Regions from separate parts of the Homo sapiens genome. Here all the other regions are linked to region 1. The links are contacts of gene promoters, found by promoter capture Hi-C in blood cells and fetal thymus (Javierre and others, 2016). All regions are on one chromosome and are shown on one strand. Each heading gives the region's core, a stretch centred on a gene start or on the middle of the fragment in contact. The rest is flanking DNA. Distances are from core to core; before and after follow the strand shown.

The links. Contacts are between HindIII fragments. The CHiCAGO score rates a contact against its expected background, and 5 or more counts as called.
Region 2: a fragment that was not itself captured here is called in contact with the fragment with the promoter of BORCS6 in region 1 in 1 of 17 cell types (activated CD4 T cells); the score reaches 5.8 in activated CD4 T cells.
Region 3: a fragment that was not itself captured here is called in contact with the fragment with the promoter of BORCS6 in region 1 in 5 of 17 cell types (erythroblasts, non-activated CD4 T cells, naive CD8 T cells and 2 more); the score reaches 7.9 in erythroblasts.

What each region holds. Positions count from the first base shown.
Region 1 is chr17:8,186,715-8,191,584 of GRCh38, reverse strand. BORCS6 (BLOC-1 related complex subunit 6) reads left to right here and starts at 1,405. Exons shown (of 1, transcript NM_017622.3): 1 at 1,405-3,240. The coding sequence starts at 1,445. The coding sequence ends at 2,518. LOC124903913 (a long non-coding RNA gene) reads left to right here. Exons shown (of 2, transcript XR_007065604.1): 2 at 1-310. It overlaps TRS-GCT4-3 (tRNA-Ser (anticodon GCT) 4-3), which reads right to left and starts at 4,719; the gene lies at 4,638-4,719. It overlaps MIR4521 (microRNA 4521), which reads right to left and starts at 4,640; the gene lies at 4,581-4,640. It also overlaps TRT-AGT1-1 and TRI-AAT5-5. RefSeq lists enhancers at 946-1,591, 1,334-1,613, 1,592-2,238, 3,377-3,426, 4,857-4,870 and silencers at 1,724-1,773, 1,974-2,033, 2,104-2,153, 4,287-4,396, 4,647-4,696. The HindIII fragment of the contact is 3,696 bases long and covers 314-4,009 here.
Region 2 is chr17:7,888,301-7,893,032 of GRCh38, reverse strand. CHD3 (chromodomain helicase DNA binding protein 3) reads right to left here and starts at 4,244. Exons shown (of 40, transcript NM_001005273.3): 1 at 3,933-4,244; 2 at 3,257-3,369; 3 at 2,292-2,462; 4 at 1,969-2,093. The coding sequence starts at 4,032. RefSeq lists an enhancer at 3,243-3,812. The HindIII fragment of the contact is 7,252 bases long and covers 1-4,732 here.
Region 3 is chr17:7,834,695-7,839,115 of GRCh38, reverse strand. All of the region lies in intron 1 of KDM6B (lysine demethylase 6B), which reads right to left. LOC124904106 (translation initiation factor IF-2) reads left to right here. Exons shown (of 4, transcript XM_047437265.1): 4 at 2,472-3,708. The coding sequence ends at 3,499. Among named protein-coding and RNA genes, the nearest start is that of KDM6B, 2.7 kb to the right of the region's middle. RefSeq lists silencers at 1,328-1,477, 3,018-3,077, 3,098-3,517 and enhancers at 2,348-2,397, 4,066-4,421. The HindIII fragment of the contact is 2,138 bases long and covers 182-2,319 here.

The sequences.
Region 1 (4,870 bases), core at 156-2,655:
CTTTGGGAGGCCGAGGCGGGTGGATCACTTGAGGCCAGTAGTTCAAGACCAGCCTGGCCAACATGGTGAAACCCCATCTCTACTAAAAATACAAAATTAGCCGGGCGTGGTGGCGGGCGCTTGTAATCCCAGCTACCCGGGAGACTGAGTTAGGAGAATCGCGTGAACCCAGGAGGCGGAGGTTGCAGTGAGCCGAGATCGCGCCACTGCACTCCAGCCTGGGTGACGGAGTGGGACTCTGTCTCTAAATACATAAATAAATAAATAAATAAATAAATAAATAAATAAATAAAAATACTGATGTCTCCAAGCTTTGGCTATGTGTTGCAATGTACAACCTTTCCAATGTCGCTGCACCATTGCATTTAGAGGAAATCTCCATTCCCTAACAGGAACTACAAGGCCCCCTGCATGACGTGGCCCCTGCTGCCTGTTCAGCTCCTTGGCTCGAAATCCTTCCCCTTATCTTGCTGATTTTGTTTTAGTCCCAATGTCTCCTGCCCCCTCACCTCAGTTTCTTGAATACGTCAAGACTTCTTTGTCTCTGAGAGGTAGCTCAAGTTTTCTTCTCTCTGCCTGGGGGGTGGCTGCGTCTTTTTGGTTCTTTTTAGTTAAAAGTCTCACCAAAGAGGTATTTTCCTGACCCCTTACCTAAACTAGTGCCTGCTCAGTTATATTCTCAATCATAACACTTTATTTCCTGTATAGCACATATCAAAATTTGTGATCATTTCATTTGTTGAATATTTTACCTCGTGGCAAAATCACACGCCATCCTCCAAGGGGCGAGACCCCTCAGTGTGAAAGGGGCAAGAGACACAGAACAAGAGTGACAAACGCATAGGAAAGCCCAGAGGCCGCTGCCTTGACCACAGTGGGTCGCTCTGAGCAGTTCAGTGGTTAGGTCTCTTAACCAAGAAAGATAGAGCAAACCATTCATGCTCATGCTGGACTTCTGGTTTCCTTCTTTTTAGTCAACTAGGTTCAACCCTGATGGTCCAAGAAGGATATGCCATTTTCATCCTAAGAACCTCTCTAGGAACCCCAAGTGGGCTCCCCACTTGGTATTTTTGCTAAGCAATCACTGTTGGGGGGGGTACAATTACAGGCAGAAAGGATCTGAGCCCCACCCCTCGGGACTCAGGAATTTGAGGACCTTGGTCTTTAAGATCTGCCCCATCAGCTTTCAGAAAGGGCGGGGCGACGGGAGCAGCTGTCACCTCCTTCTCTCCACCCTGCCGGCGTTCACGTGTGTTCCGCTGTGCAGTAACAGCTCTTCTTCCGGGACTTCCTGGTCGCCGCGACCAATCAAAATGCTTTTCCTGTCCTTACCATTGTCAGCCGCTGCCAATCGGCTCGCCTCTACCAACGCCCCTTAAAGGCGCAGCCACTGCCTCCGGAGCCGGGGCGAACCAATTCCTCCGTTGCGGCCCCCACCTGCAGTATGGAGTCGTCTCGGGGGCGGCCCGGGCCCGAGACGGACCTTCTGGCTGTAGCGGAACATCAGGCCCTAGTCTTTGGCGGCGGGCCGGGCCGAACGTCCTCTGAGCCGCCCGCAGGCCTCCGGGTGTCCGGGGAGGAAGAGACCGAGAACGTTGGGGGCGCGAACCGCCACCCCAGGACGTCCCCGAAGACGTCAAGCTGCGGCGTCGTCCACCGGCCGGAACGGGAGGCTCTGGAGAACGAGCCCGGCCCTCAAGGGACGCTGTCTGGGGCCGGGAGCCGCAGGGGGGCGCCGGGTGCAGAGCACGAACCTTCCCTGTCCTCCCGGCACAAGAACCCGGCGCCGCCCGAGGGCAAGCCCTCCTCCGGGAGGGACTGCCGTCGAGGGGGACCAGGCGGCGGGATGGATGTTGAGCAGCAGGAGGAGGAAGACAACGACGAGGAGGCGGCCGCGGGCAGCAGAGCCGGCCGCTCGTTCTCCAGCCGTCTTCAGGACAGCCGCAGCCTGGACGGGCTGAGCGAGGCGTGCGGTGGCGCCGGGTCCTCAGGGAGTGCCGAGTCCGGCGCGGGCGGCGGACGCCGCGCCACCATCTCCAGTCCCCTGGAGCTCGAAGGCACAGTGAGCCGCCACGGCGACCTTACCCACTTTGTCGCCAACAACCTGCAACTCAAGATCCGTCTGAGCGGCGCGCCTCCACCCCCGCCTTCTGCCCCTGCGCGGCCCTGCCCAGCGCCTGCACCCACACCCACACCGGCCATTCCCCCAATCGACCCCGAGGTGCTGCGGGATCTGGAGCGGTTGAGTCGGGAGCTGGGAGGCCGGGTGGACCGTCTGCTTCGCGGTCTGGGTGGCGCGGTGCAGGAGCTGACGGCGCTGAGCGTGGGTTGCATCCAGACCTACCGCGATGCTGTGGACTCCTTAGGTGAAGCCGTGGACATGAGCATCAAGGGCATGTACACCCTGCTGGCGCGCTGCGAGGAGCTGGAGCGGGCTCTGCAGCCGGTTCAGGGGCTGGCGCGCCAAGTCCGGGATATCCGACGTACTCTGGAGGTGTTGGAGGCCCTGTGCAAGTGACCAGGAGGACAGGAGAGGCCGGTCCTGGCCAGGGCAGGGCCCAGCAGGACCCTAAGGACTCTTCAGGGAGTCCTGGTGGGAAGTGCCCACTGAGGGGAGGCCTGTGTGTTGGAGGCTCTTCCAGATGCGTTCAGCTGGCCCGTGCCCACTCGCTGGGCCTTAGGCTGGTGTATGTGGGGAAGTTCTAACGGCTCTCCTGGTGGGAAGGGATGTTGCTCTGCTTGTATTCAGTTGGCCATCTGTAGCTACCCTGTTCTTCCCAACTCTCCTCCCTAGCTAGAGCACCAGCCCTGGGAACACGGGGCTTTAGGTCTGCTTGAAGGTGAGGACGTGACTCCCACATGTAATCAGGAGAAAGGGACAGAGGAAGCCCCAGCCCCCACTGTGGCTATCCTGACTCCAGTGGCCACATCTCAGGTGCCAGGGGCTGTGGGAGCTTGTGCCGTCCTTGGCCAAACACCCCGCAGGCAAAGATGCACCCCTGCTGATGGAGAGCCTTCTGCTTCTGCCCTCTGGCCCTCTACCATACCACTTCCCCAGCCAGAACCGGCGTGCAGCTAGGAGGAATGGGTTGCACGGCGGAGGGGGTGAGGTGGGAGGCGTCTCACTGCTCTCAGGGTTCAGGTAGAATGTTGCTGGTTTTGAAGCTCACCTGTTGTGGAGTGTTCTAATCAGTTTTGGCTTTCTGAGTTTTTGTGGAATTAAAGTGCTGCTGCTGCGAAGGCTGAGGCTGAGTCTGTGTGGGGTTGCAGTGATTAATAAGCCAAAGGAATGGGAATGAGGGTCGGTGTTGTTCACGCAGCTCCCTTGGGGCTGGTGCTGGGAGTGGGGTGGGGGTGGAGATGTCTCAGGCTCCGTGGGGAAAGATATGGTTCTTGCTCTTAAGCATCTGGTCTGAGGGGAAATGTGAGGACACAGATAATCACTCACAGGGGCCCAGAGATCCGGTAACCACAGAAACGTAAAAAAGATGCTCTAGAAGAGAAGGGGAAGAAATTGTCTTCTCAGGTCCTCATGAATAGGCAGGGGCTGGGTGGATTGGACGGACATCTTACCTCTGGGGGAAGACTGGGAACACTTGTCAGCTCTATTCCTGACCATTTCCCACACTCTGCAGATCAGTGCCACGTGGTTTGAGACAAATTTGTCCCAAAGCCTTTTGTTTACAGTTCACACAGTAAGTTCAGGAGCCATATATTGTGGCCATAAGATGTAGAAGCAAAGATCACGAAACAACCCCGGTTTCTCTCAATCCCTTCCTCTCAAGACACGCCCACTTTAGAATGCGCTCCAATACGCTCCCTGTTCTGGGATTGGAAATGTGGCGCTGTTTTTCCCCAGAGACGTTACTTGGCTCTAAAACGGAGTGCAGTAATCGTACTTTCGAAAAGTTTCAATCCTGGCCCGTACGGGGATCGAACCCGCGACCTTGGCGTTATTAGCACCACGCTCTAACCAACTGAGCTAACCGGCCAGTTGCTACGAAAAGCTTGAAATAAATCTATTTAGTTACAATACTGTTCAGTTCTCTCGGGAAAAACCTTCAGTTGTGGGACTGCTTTATGAGAAATGAAAACAGAACACAAACACTGACTAACTGAGCACCTAGACGAGTAACAGACAGTACTGGCAAGTACAGATGATGCGACTGGTGTAACTGCAGGTCGAGGCGCAAGTACCATGTGCACGAAGAGCAAAAACCCAACAGCGTGTGGCAGATGCACCGGGAGAGGATAGATGGGTACGTGAGTAAACCATGTAGGATGGAAGTTATGAGTTTCTGCAACTGTCCTCACAATGTTTAATGTTGGCAAAAGCGTGGGGGAAACACGGAGGCACCGCTGGGATTCGAACCCAGGATCTCCTGTTTACTAGACAGGCGCTTTAACCAACTAAGCCACGGCGCCGCCGGAAAGACGCTTAGGATCTTGTTTCCTTGGCCAGGTCAGCTGAATTGCAGAGAATGAATACAAAGATGTCACAAAAAGTCGGCTGCATACGAAAATGAGGAAAGGATGGATGCAGCTGGGAAAGACACGAAAACTGAATGGAGTGACTGGGGGTAACAAGAGAAATCCTAGTTTTGATGCTACAAAACTGAGCACAGGACTTCCTTAGCCGACGAGGATGGGATTCGAACCCACGCGTGCAGAGCACAATGGATTAGCAGTCCATCGCCTTAACCACTCGGCCACCTCGTCTGCAGACAGCCCTCGCTGTTCAGACTGCCCTCCGCATCTCACTTCTCTGGAACCTGAACTTCCTGCAGGTGGGGCTCGCCTACGTCGTGAAGGCTGCACATTTGGAAGGAATCCGCTCGGCACTGGAAAGAGAACTCGTAGATCAGAGACC
Region 2 (4,732 bases), core at 1,551-4,050, 300 kb after region 1:
AAGCAGGAGGATTGCTTGAGCCCAGGGCTATGAGATAAGCCTGGGCAACAAAGTGAGATCCTGTCTCTACAAAAAATTAAAATAAAAAAAAATAATTAGCTGGGTGTGGCAGCACCTGAGGCTGAGGCAGGAGGGTGGCTTGAGCCCAGGAGTTGGAGGATATAGTGAGCTATGATCACACCACTGCAGTGCAGCCTGGGTGACAGAATGAGACCCTGTCTTTAAAAAAAGGGAAATAGGCTGGGCGCAGTGGCTCACGCCTGTAATCCCAGTACTTTGGGAGGCCAAGGTGGGAGGATCACGAGGTCAAGAGATGGAGACCATCCTGGCCAACATGGCGAAACCCCGTCTCTACTAAAAATACAAAAATTAGCTGGGTGTAGTGGTGCGCACCTGTAGTCTCAGCTACTCGGGAGGCTGAGGCAGAAAAATTGCTTGAACCTGGGAGGCAGAGGTTGCAGTGAGCCAAGATTGCGCCACTACACTCCAGCCTGGCGACAGAGTGAGATTCCATCTCAAAAAAAAAAAAAAAAAAAGGGGAAATAAAAAACAGCGAAATAAAACTTAAAAGCATAAAAGGTTAAAATAAAATCAACAAAAATGCTTTACTTTTGTATACTACTTTACAGTTCATAAAACCCTTTCACATACATTCCACCTTATCTTGTCCTCACAATAATACTCTTGAGTTGCTATGATTCTCTGCATTTTACTAGTAAGTTCCATGGGCCCTGAAGATGGGCTTCCGTAGGACGGAGTGTGAAAGAGTCAGACCATGCTGGTTCTGCTCTGGGGTGGGGTGCTCAACTCTTGTGCGGACACGGGTGATCCATGGTGCTGAGAAAAGCCCCAAGTTCAGCAGTAAGGTAGGTGAGACAACGTTACTAATGACAGTCACCAGTTACTGAATGCTCCCTAGGAGCCAGGCACTGACGGTACTGTGCTTTCCATTCATTATCCCACCAAACCCACACAGATTCCTATGAGGTATATATTATTATTCCCCGTTTATAGAAGAGGAAATTGAGGATTGAAGAAGTTCAGTCACTTGCCCAAAATGTAACCAGATGTGAACCTCAGCAGCTGCCTCCAGAGCACTGAACTGATATGTTAAAGTGCCTTCTCCCCAAAACAAAATACATCGGCACTATTTTTTCTTTTTTTTTTTTTGAGACGGAGTTTCGCTTGTTGCCCAGGCTAGAGCATAGCAGTGGTGTGATCTCGGCTCACTACAACCTTTGCCTCCCGGGTTCAAGCGATTCTCCTGCCTTAGCCTCCCGAGTAGCTGGGATTACAGGCATGTGCCACCACGCCCAGCTAATTTTTTTGTATTTAGTAGAGACGGGGTTTCACCATGTTGGATGGGCTGGTCCTGAACTCCTGACCTCAGGCGATCCACCTGCCTTGGCCTCCCAAAGTGCTTGGATTACAGGCATGAGCCACTGCACCTGGCCCATCTCTGCTATTTTCTACTCTACTATTCTCTACTTTTCTTCAGGAGCCACTGAAGCTCAGGTCCCACTGCCAGCAGTGGACCCTCCATTATTACCAGGGCCTAAGGAAGGGGCACAGGACCTGCTAAGTGAGCTAAGGAAGTTCAGGAACACTGATGGTATCTCTCAGGTCCAGTCTAGAGAGAAGTCACAGAGCAGAAGATGGAGCTGTTGGGGCAGGGGAGGGCTCACTATATTCTGTCCTCACTTTATTCTGTTGCTAAAGAGTTCTCTAACCCAGCACTGGAATCATGATGGCCCCTCCACCCCTCGCCCCTCAGTGAAGAGTTCTCAACTGGGGTTCTTGGATCCTTATGAGTCTAGGAGTTCCCTGAAATGACGTGTAGAATTTGGTGTGTATACACCGTGAATTCTCTGGAGAGCAGTTTCATAGCTTTCATCAGATTCCAAGGGGTCCAGGACCTCCCTCAAATTAAAAGTGTCAATTAGCGAGGATTCCCCAGTCTTACCGCACCTCATGAACTGGCTGAAGGCTTTGTAGTTGGTGAGCGTGTGGTAATCCTCCTCAGAGAACACATGCTCCACATCCTCCAGGCCCCAGGTCAGAAGCAGAGTTGCTGATGACTTCTGTTCCACTTGCTGCGGGAGAGGGGCTTTGGTGAAGTAGGTGCTCCTCCAGCCCCTATTCCAGGCCGCACACAGGCCTGTCTACCTACCCACTAGCTTCCCTGGGCTTTCTTGCTTCTTGCCCCATTCTCCAGTCCAGTCTCCATTCCTCCCCTCCTCATGCCCGTCTTTAATGCAGATTTCTCACTCTCATTCCCTAATTCTACTCACCTTTTGCCCCCCATCTCCCTCCCCCTTTTTCCGCCGCTTTGTCTTCTTCTCCTTTTTTTCTCGGTGCTTCCTTCTTCGTTTCCGACCCGGTCCGGTTCCATATTCACTGCCCCCACTCTCTGACTTCTCCCGGTACTCATCTCGCTCAGAACCAAATTCCTCCTCACTGTCCTAAGAGAAAGAAATAAAAATAACATTTATTCATCCCTACCATTGCCAGAAACTGTTCTCAGCACATACCATATCTTACCTCTTTTAATCTTCACAACAATCCTGTGATAGTAACTAATTTTTTATCTCCTTTTTTTTTTTGGAGATGGAGTCTTGCTCTGTCACCCATGCTGGAGTGCACTGACGTGATCTCGGCTCACTGCAACCTCCACCTCCCGGGTTCAAGCGATTCTCCTGCCTCAGCCTCCTGTGTAGCTGGGATTACAGACGTACCACCGCGCCCGGCTGATTTTTGTATTTTTAGTAGAGACGGAGTTTCACCACATTGGCCAGGCTTGTCGCGAACTCCTGACCTCAAATGATCTACCCGGCTCAGCCTCCCAAAGTGCTGGGATTACAGGCGTGAGCCACTGCAACCGGCCTTTATCTACTTTTTACAGATGAGGAAACTAAGGCACAGAGAGCCAAATAAACGGCCTGGTATCCTAGACAGAGGAATGCTGGACTCTTGAATTCATACAGTCTTCCAGAGCTTGTGCTTTCAACTGCTTCTCTTTGCTGCTGAGGACACACTGACAACGAGGCTCTTCACTAGGTTGCAGTGAATGAAGTTAGGGTCCCAGATCCCTGAGATACAGGCCAACAGTGGCAGGGAAGTGGGGGGCCCGGGGGATCAAGCCTCCCTGGCTTCAGAACCCCACCCCCACACCAGTAATCAGGACCAGAGAAAATGTAGGTCTCTGAGAATGGGTCTCTTGAGCCTTGCCACAGAGTTAGGAATTCTTGACACTTACACGCTTCTTGCGTTTTCGGGGTTTTCCTGGCTTGTTCTCCTTCTGCTTCTTGGGTCCTCGTTTTCTCTTCTTCACACCCAATGCTGACGGCAGCAGCCGAATGTCATCCTTATCTTTGAAGCAAAAAGCATCAGAAAACCTAAGCCTCTAGGTTTCCAGCCTCTGAGGCCCCTCAACTTGCCCCTTCCCCACCTCGGCAGTTCCCACTCTCTAGGAAGCATTAACTCCTCCAAGCCCTGCCTCCCTTCACTGGATGCAAACAGAAAGTGTTTCGAGTACTCTGGGATGCTCTGGTTCTGAATGGGAGGTCAGGGGTCAGAAGAGAAGAGCAGCCAAACCACTCCCCTCCCTCCCCTCCTACTAACAAGAGACCAGGCTCCAGGCCATGGGCTCTGACTGTGGCAGGTCCTTTCAGTCACCGCCAGGGCTCCTCCTGCCTTCCCCCTCACTTCGCCAGCTGGCATCCTGCCCAGGAACTGGGGAAGCCATGCCCAGCTGCTGGCCTGGCCTGACCCCAGCACTTGGAGTGGGGAGACACAAGCTGGCAGCTCCCTAAGCCAGATGCTGGGGAGGGAGAGCCAAAGGTGGACACCTGGGTTCTCACACTAACACCCTGGGGCCCTGACATCCTTTTGCCAAGAGGGAGGCCTCTATTTACATTTCCTCGGATAATTACCAGGCATCCTGTCACCCCAACACAGTCCTGGAGGAAAAGAAATCCTCAGCTGGTCATTTTTACTTCTTGCCCACAGGATCACAGTGTCTGCCGCCTTCATCACACAGGAGAAAGTCTCCACAATTACCTAAATATTCCTCCTCCCAAGTAGCCTAAAACCTACCTTCAATTCTATTCCCATCTCCCTGCTCCCTTTGGGAACTAGGGGGCCATACCCTTTGTTTCCCGATCTCACCCTTCACCTCCATATTTTGTTCCAGATATCCTGACCCATTCATCTATACGCAGTATGGGAGACCCAAACAAAGATATAGGCACAGACAGACACACCCAGCATATGCCTTCTCAAAAGCACGCGCGCGCACGCGCGCACCCACACCCACACACACTCTCAGGCCCACAAATCCAGAGGATGGCCTGTACCTGCTTCAGCAGGGATAGGTCCCTGGCTTTCTCCCCAGATGTCTCTGCCAGAGGACCCCAGGCCCCCCACCCCATTATCTGTGAAGGTGTCACTCTGTGAAGGCTTGGGGAACGGAACGGAGAGTTACCCCACATAAAGGAAGACAGGATGCCCCACAGACCTGGGGCCCTGGGGCTCTGGTTCACGTCCCTCCCCTACCAAGCACTAGACTAACCAGCCAGACCTGTCTAGTACAGAGAGAGGCAGCCGATGCAAGATGGGAAAGCCTGGGCTTGGCCCAGCCCCTAGCTCTAGGACACACAATCCTTTCTCCTTCCCTCAACAGCCAACGGAAAATTAGCCACAATTAACACCAGAGGCCTCCGTTTCCACTGCC
Region 3 (4,421 bases), core at 1-2,500, 350 kb after region 1:
GCTCCTCAGGGACCTATGTTTTCTGCTCCCTTAATCATAGTTCTCTGCCCTTATGGACCCAAACACTTGGGGTCCCAATCTAATCTCTATATTCCCTAGCCTTCCGGCCCCCATCCTTCCCCTTGCCTCAGAGACTCAGGCCTCTAGCCCCCAGTCTCCATGATGCAATGTTCCGCAAGCTTCTGTGGCTGCTGATGACACTGCCCCCAGGGAGGTGCTATTTGTGACCCACCAAGGCCTCCTTCCTAAGCCAGGGTAGTGGTCAGCTGTAGGTGGTAGAGGTCAGGCAGGCAAGGCCCTTCTGCTCGGGAAGGGAGCTTCAGGCTAGAACTCTCCAGGACAGGGAGGCTCATAACCTGGGAGCAGAGAGTGTGTATCTATAGTCTGTGGCATCTGTGTTCTGCGGTTGTGCTGGGGGGAGGGACTAGGAAAGGGCTAGTCGAGAGCAGAGTGGGCAGACTTTAGGACAGACCAAGAGGAGGAGTGAGGGGGAAGCCTAGGGGGTCAGAGGGTGTGTGAGGGGTGTCTGGACAACAGAGTGGGGGAGGGGCTAACAGCCATTTAAAGGGCCAGCCCCAGAGCTTTAATCCCTCACCAGCCCTGGCCCCAAGCCGGAGGCTGTAATTCATCTGTCCAACAGCTGGGGTGTGTGTGTTTGTGTGTGTGTGGGGGGGGGGGCTTCCTCCCCCTTCTATTCCCTCCCTCCTCCTCCCCGTCCCTGAGTCCCGGAGTCAAACAAAGAACTGTAGCAGGCTCTCCCCAACCCCCTCCCTCCTCCTCCTCCTCCTCCTCCACCTCCTCCTCCCCTCCCTCCCTCCCCACCAGCAGGCTCCCTCCTCCTCCCTTCCGGTCTCTTCCTTTAACTACCCGCCCCCCCAGCCCCCAGCACTAGTCTCTCTCCACCCACCCACCCCAACCTTTTACACACCCCTCAGCCTAGCCCTGTCCCCACTAGAGAAACTGTGGAGTCCCTCTGCAAAACGAAAGGCTCCAGAGATCAACACGGGAGGGGGCTGGGGTCTTGCTTCAAAATCAAGAACCATAATACAATTATTTTATTTTCAAGGCCCACGGAATAGTCTTAGCTATTTCTTGTCCAAGAGAAAAAAAAATAATCCTAAAGAAAGCAATACAAATCTGCCTAAAGCCTTCATCAAATAAAATGCACAAAGCAGTTGAAGCTAATCCCCAGCCCCCTAACCCCAATCTCCAAATTAACACAAACTATCCACTACCCCTTAACAAACTCCTACGGTTACCGCTGGTTTGGAGCAGACCCACAGCAATAATAATAAACTAGTAACTAACACCATTTAATAATAAAAGTATTTCATAACAACAAGCACTCATTCTGTGTTCATTCTGTGCCAGGCACTGTGCTAAGTGATTTGCATAAATTATCTCATTTTTTTCCTCCCAGCGGCCTTCAAGGTAGGTGTTGATATTTAAATGTTCAAGATTAACATACGAGGCTCAGAGAGGTTCTGACCTCTCCAAGTCCTAGTAGCCACTAAGTGACAGAGCTAGAATTAGAATCCAGGTCTGATCTGACAGCCCAAGCTCTAAGGTACATAAAAGCACAAACCGATTCATTCCAATACCATCACCAACCCTGGGACTTAATAGAGAAGAACAACCATAGCAATCAACTGAGTCCCCCTCCACCAAGTGAGAGGCTACAAACCGATTCACCCGCATACACACAATAAAGACCCTGACTTTTCAGCCTAATACTGTTTCTTGACCCTTTTCCTTTCATTGTTTGCAGATGGGGGTGTGCCATTATGGGGATTTCAGGGATAAGCTGGTGTGTAGTGAACCCCCCCCCATACTACACACAACTCTTCCGTCTTTCAACCACTCCCACTTCAAATCAATCTGGGGAAGGGGGCAATAGGACACTTGGCCATGCAGCAGGTGGGAAAGTAAAATGACGGCTAGGTAGCTTTTTCTATGGGGGCGGAGCCTTGGAGGGGAAGCTCTTCTGTGCCAATCTAGGGAAAAGTGACCCAAGGCTCCCTCAGCCCAGCAAAGGGGCAAAGTCTTTCAGCCACACCACACCCGTGCCCCTCCCCCTCACAAAACTCCAGGCCGGGGTTTCCCACCTGCAGGATGCTAAGACCACGGGAAGGGAGAGGGGAAAGAGATGGCACGGGACTGGAACTGGACTCGGGGCAGAGGTGGGAGGGAATAGAAGGGGGAGGAAGCCTCATTGCCTGGCAACCATCCCGGGGCACGTGCACTAGTGACATCATCCCAGGCCACCTCTAACACAGACCTTTGACCCCTACGGGGCGGAGTGGGTGTGCTGGCTAAGCTTCCTGGAAACACTGGAAACACCCTTAGGAATTCTGGGAACCCAAAAAGGAGACATAAGAAGAAACCCAGGCGTCCTTATCTCTTTTACCCCTAATACGACTCCAATCCCAGGGACTCAGGCCTCTTGCCTGTCTCCTCCTCTCCGCCTGCAGCCCTGACCTCCCAACCCACATTTCTGACGGGAGTCGGCCCGACACGCCCCTCGGAGATACTGTGCCTTCTCTCTCCTGGGCGAGATCTCGGTGGGGGCCGGCAGGCGGGGACGGGGGCACCGGGTCCCGCGGGGCTCCGTCTTCCATCTGCAGGATCCCCCGTGCCCCAGCCGGCCGCCAGCCGGAATCTGTCTGGGTCCCCAACTCTCCCGCCCCTCCCCGCGCTGTTCCAGGGCGGAGTCTGTGGAGTTGAAACCAGGACACGGCGAGAGGAAGAGTTATATAACCGGGAGAAGCGAAGAAGGACGAGTGGAGACAGGGACAGACAGCCCGAAAGGAGCCGAGGGAGGTGCAAAGAACGCCGGGGCGAACGAGGAGGAAACGTTAGGAATGGGAAGGGTTTTGGTGCACATCAAAGAGCAGGAATTCACGCGAAGAAGGGGCGTGATGGCCCAGAAGAATCACCTGGGCCGTCCGGGGCTTCCCCGCAGTGCCCTCCTCCGCCACCAACAGCAGCTGGGCCCGGGCGGGAGAAGCCTTGGGAAGGGGCGCTGGTACCCGCTCGCTTTCTCTTGGGAAAGCAACTTAAGCCAGAGCCCGGGAAGGCAGCGGCCGAGCAGATGGGGCCGGAAACCACAGCTCCGCCCAGCCCACCTGGGAGTGTGGGGCGCCAGCTGGGGGGAGGTGGGGAACAGGTAGTCGGCCCTCCCGAGCCAGGCTGGGCATTATGGTCGCGACCGGCGAAACGGTGCAGACCGACCGAGACGTGTGGGTCCCCAGGGGCTGAAGAGCGCAGCCTCAGGCGGCTTTACACAGACTCCACGAGGGGAGGGGGGCGCCCGGCTCGCCGCGCAGGCGCAAGGGGGTGCTCGGGCGCGTGCGGCGCAGGGCGGGGGGTGGGCGCGAGCGTGTGGGAGTGCACGTGCGGGTCCCAGGCAGCTGCTGCCTCCCAGCCTCCGCCGCTGCCCCTCCCCTCTCCCTTTCCTGTCGCTATCATCCCCCTTCCCCATTGGCTGCCAGGGCCCTGACGTCAGGGCCGACCGCTGGAGCGGATTGGGCGGACGGGAGAGTTCGGGAATCCGGCTCCCAAGTCTCGCCCTCCAGTTACTCTGGCAACAGGACAAGCAACCCAGGGGAGGGAAGGGGAGCCGAGGTCAACGCTGCGCCTCGGTCCCTAACCCCCTCCGGACAACCACCGAGTCCCCTTCGGTCGCGGCGCAGCTCGCTACCTCCCCGCCTTCCTCCCAGGGCTCTTCCTGTCCCGGGAACCAGGCGTCCTGCCCTCGGCCTTCCCCACAGTCTTCAGGCCCTCCGCTGTCTCTAACCCCCACCAGTGTCACAACATAAGCTGCAGCAAACAGGAAGCGAATCTACGTCGCTTAGCAACCACCCCGCGTGCCCCCCTCCCCACTATTTACCCCAGCCGGGAGAGGCGGAGATTGAGTCCCCAGCCCCCTCCCCGTCTTCTGCGCTGCGACCTCCTGCCCACAATTTCCTGTGAGGGGGCCCAGATCACAGGAAGTCAAGTGGGGGCCTCAGCCTACCTTTCCCTCGGACCGGGGCGGGGGGCTTCAGCTACTTTCACGGTCACATCCCCCACCTGCCCTGGGTGCGTCTCGCCCTCGCCATCTTGTGGCTACGTTGGGAAGGCTCCGCACCGAGAAGCCGTGCGGGGCGCGCTAGGGTTCGGGAACGGCGGAGTGGGAGAAGGACTAGGGATGAGGAGGCTAGCGGGGCGAGACGGAGTGAAAGGGAGGCGCAGGGGGGTGGTGGGAAGAAGGCGAAGGCTACCGCTGGGAAGCTCTCGGGGCCGCTGGTGGGAAGGTCAGGCTGAGGCTTCTACACCTCACCCGTGCAGAGAACTGGAGGGAGACTTAAAGTAGTCCTGGGACCGGGACACACCCAAGTCTGACCACATCTGACCTTACTGGGCCATGGCATTGACCTGTC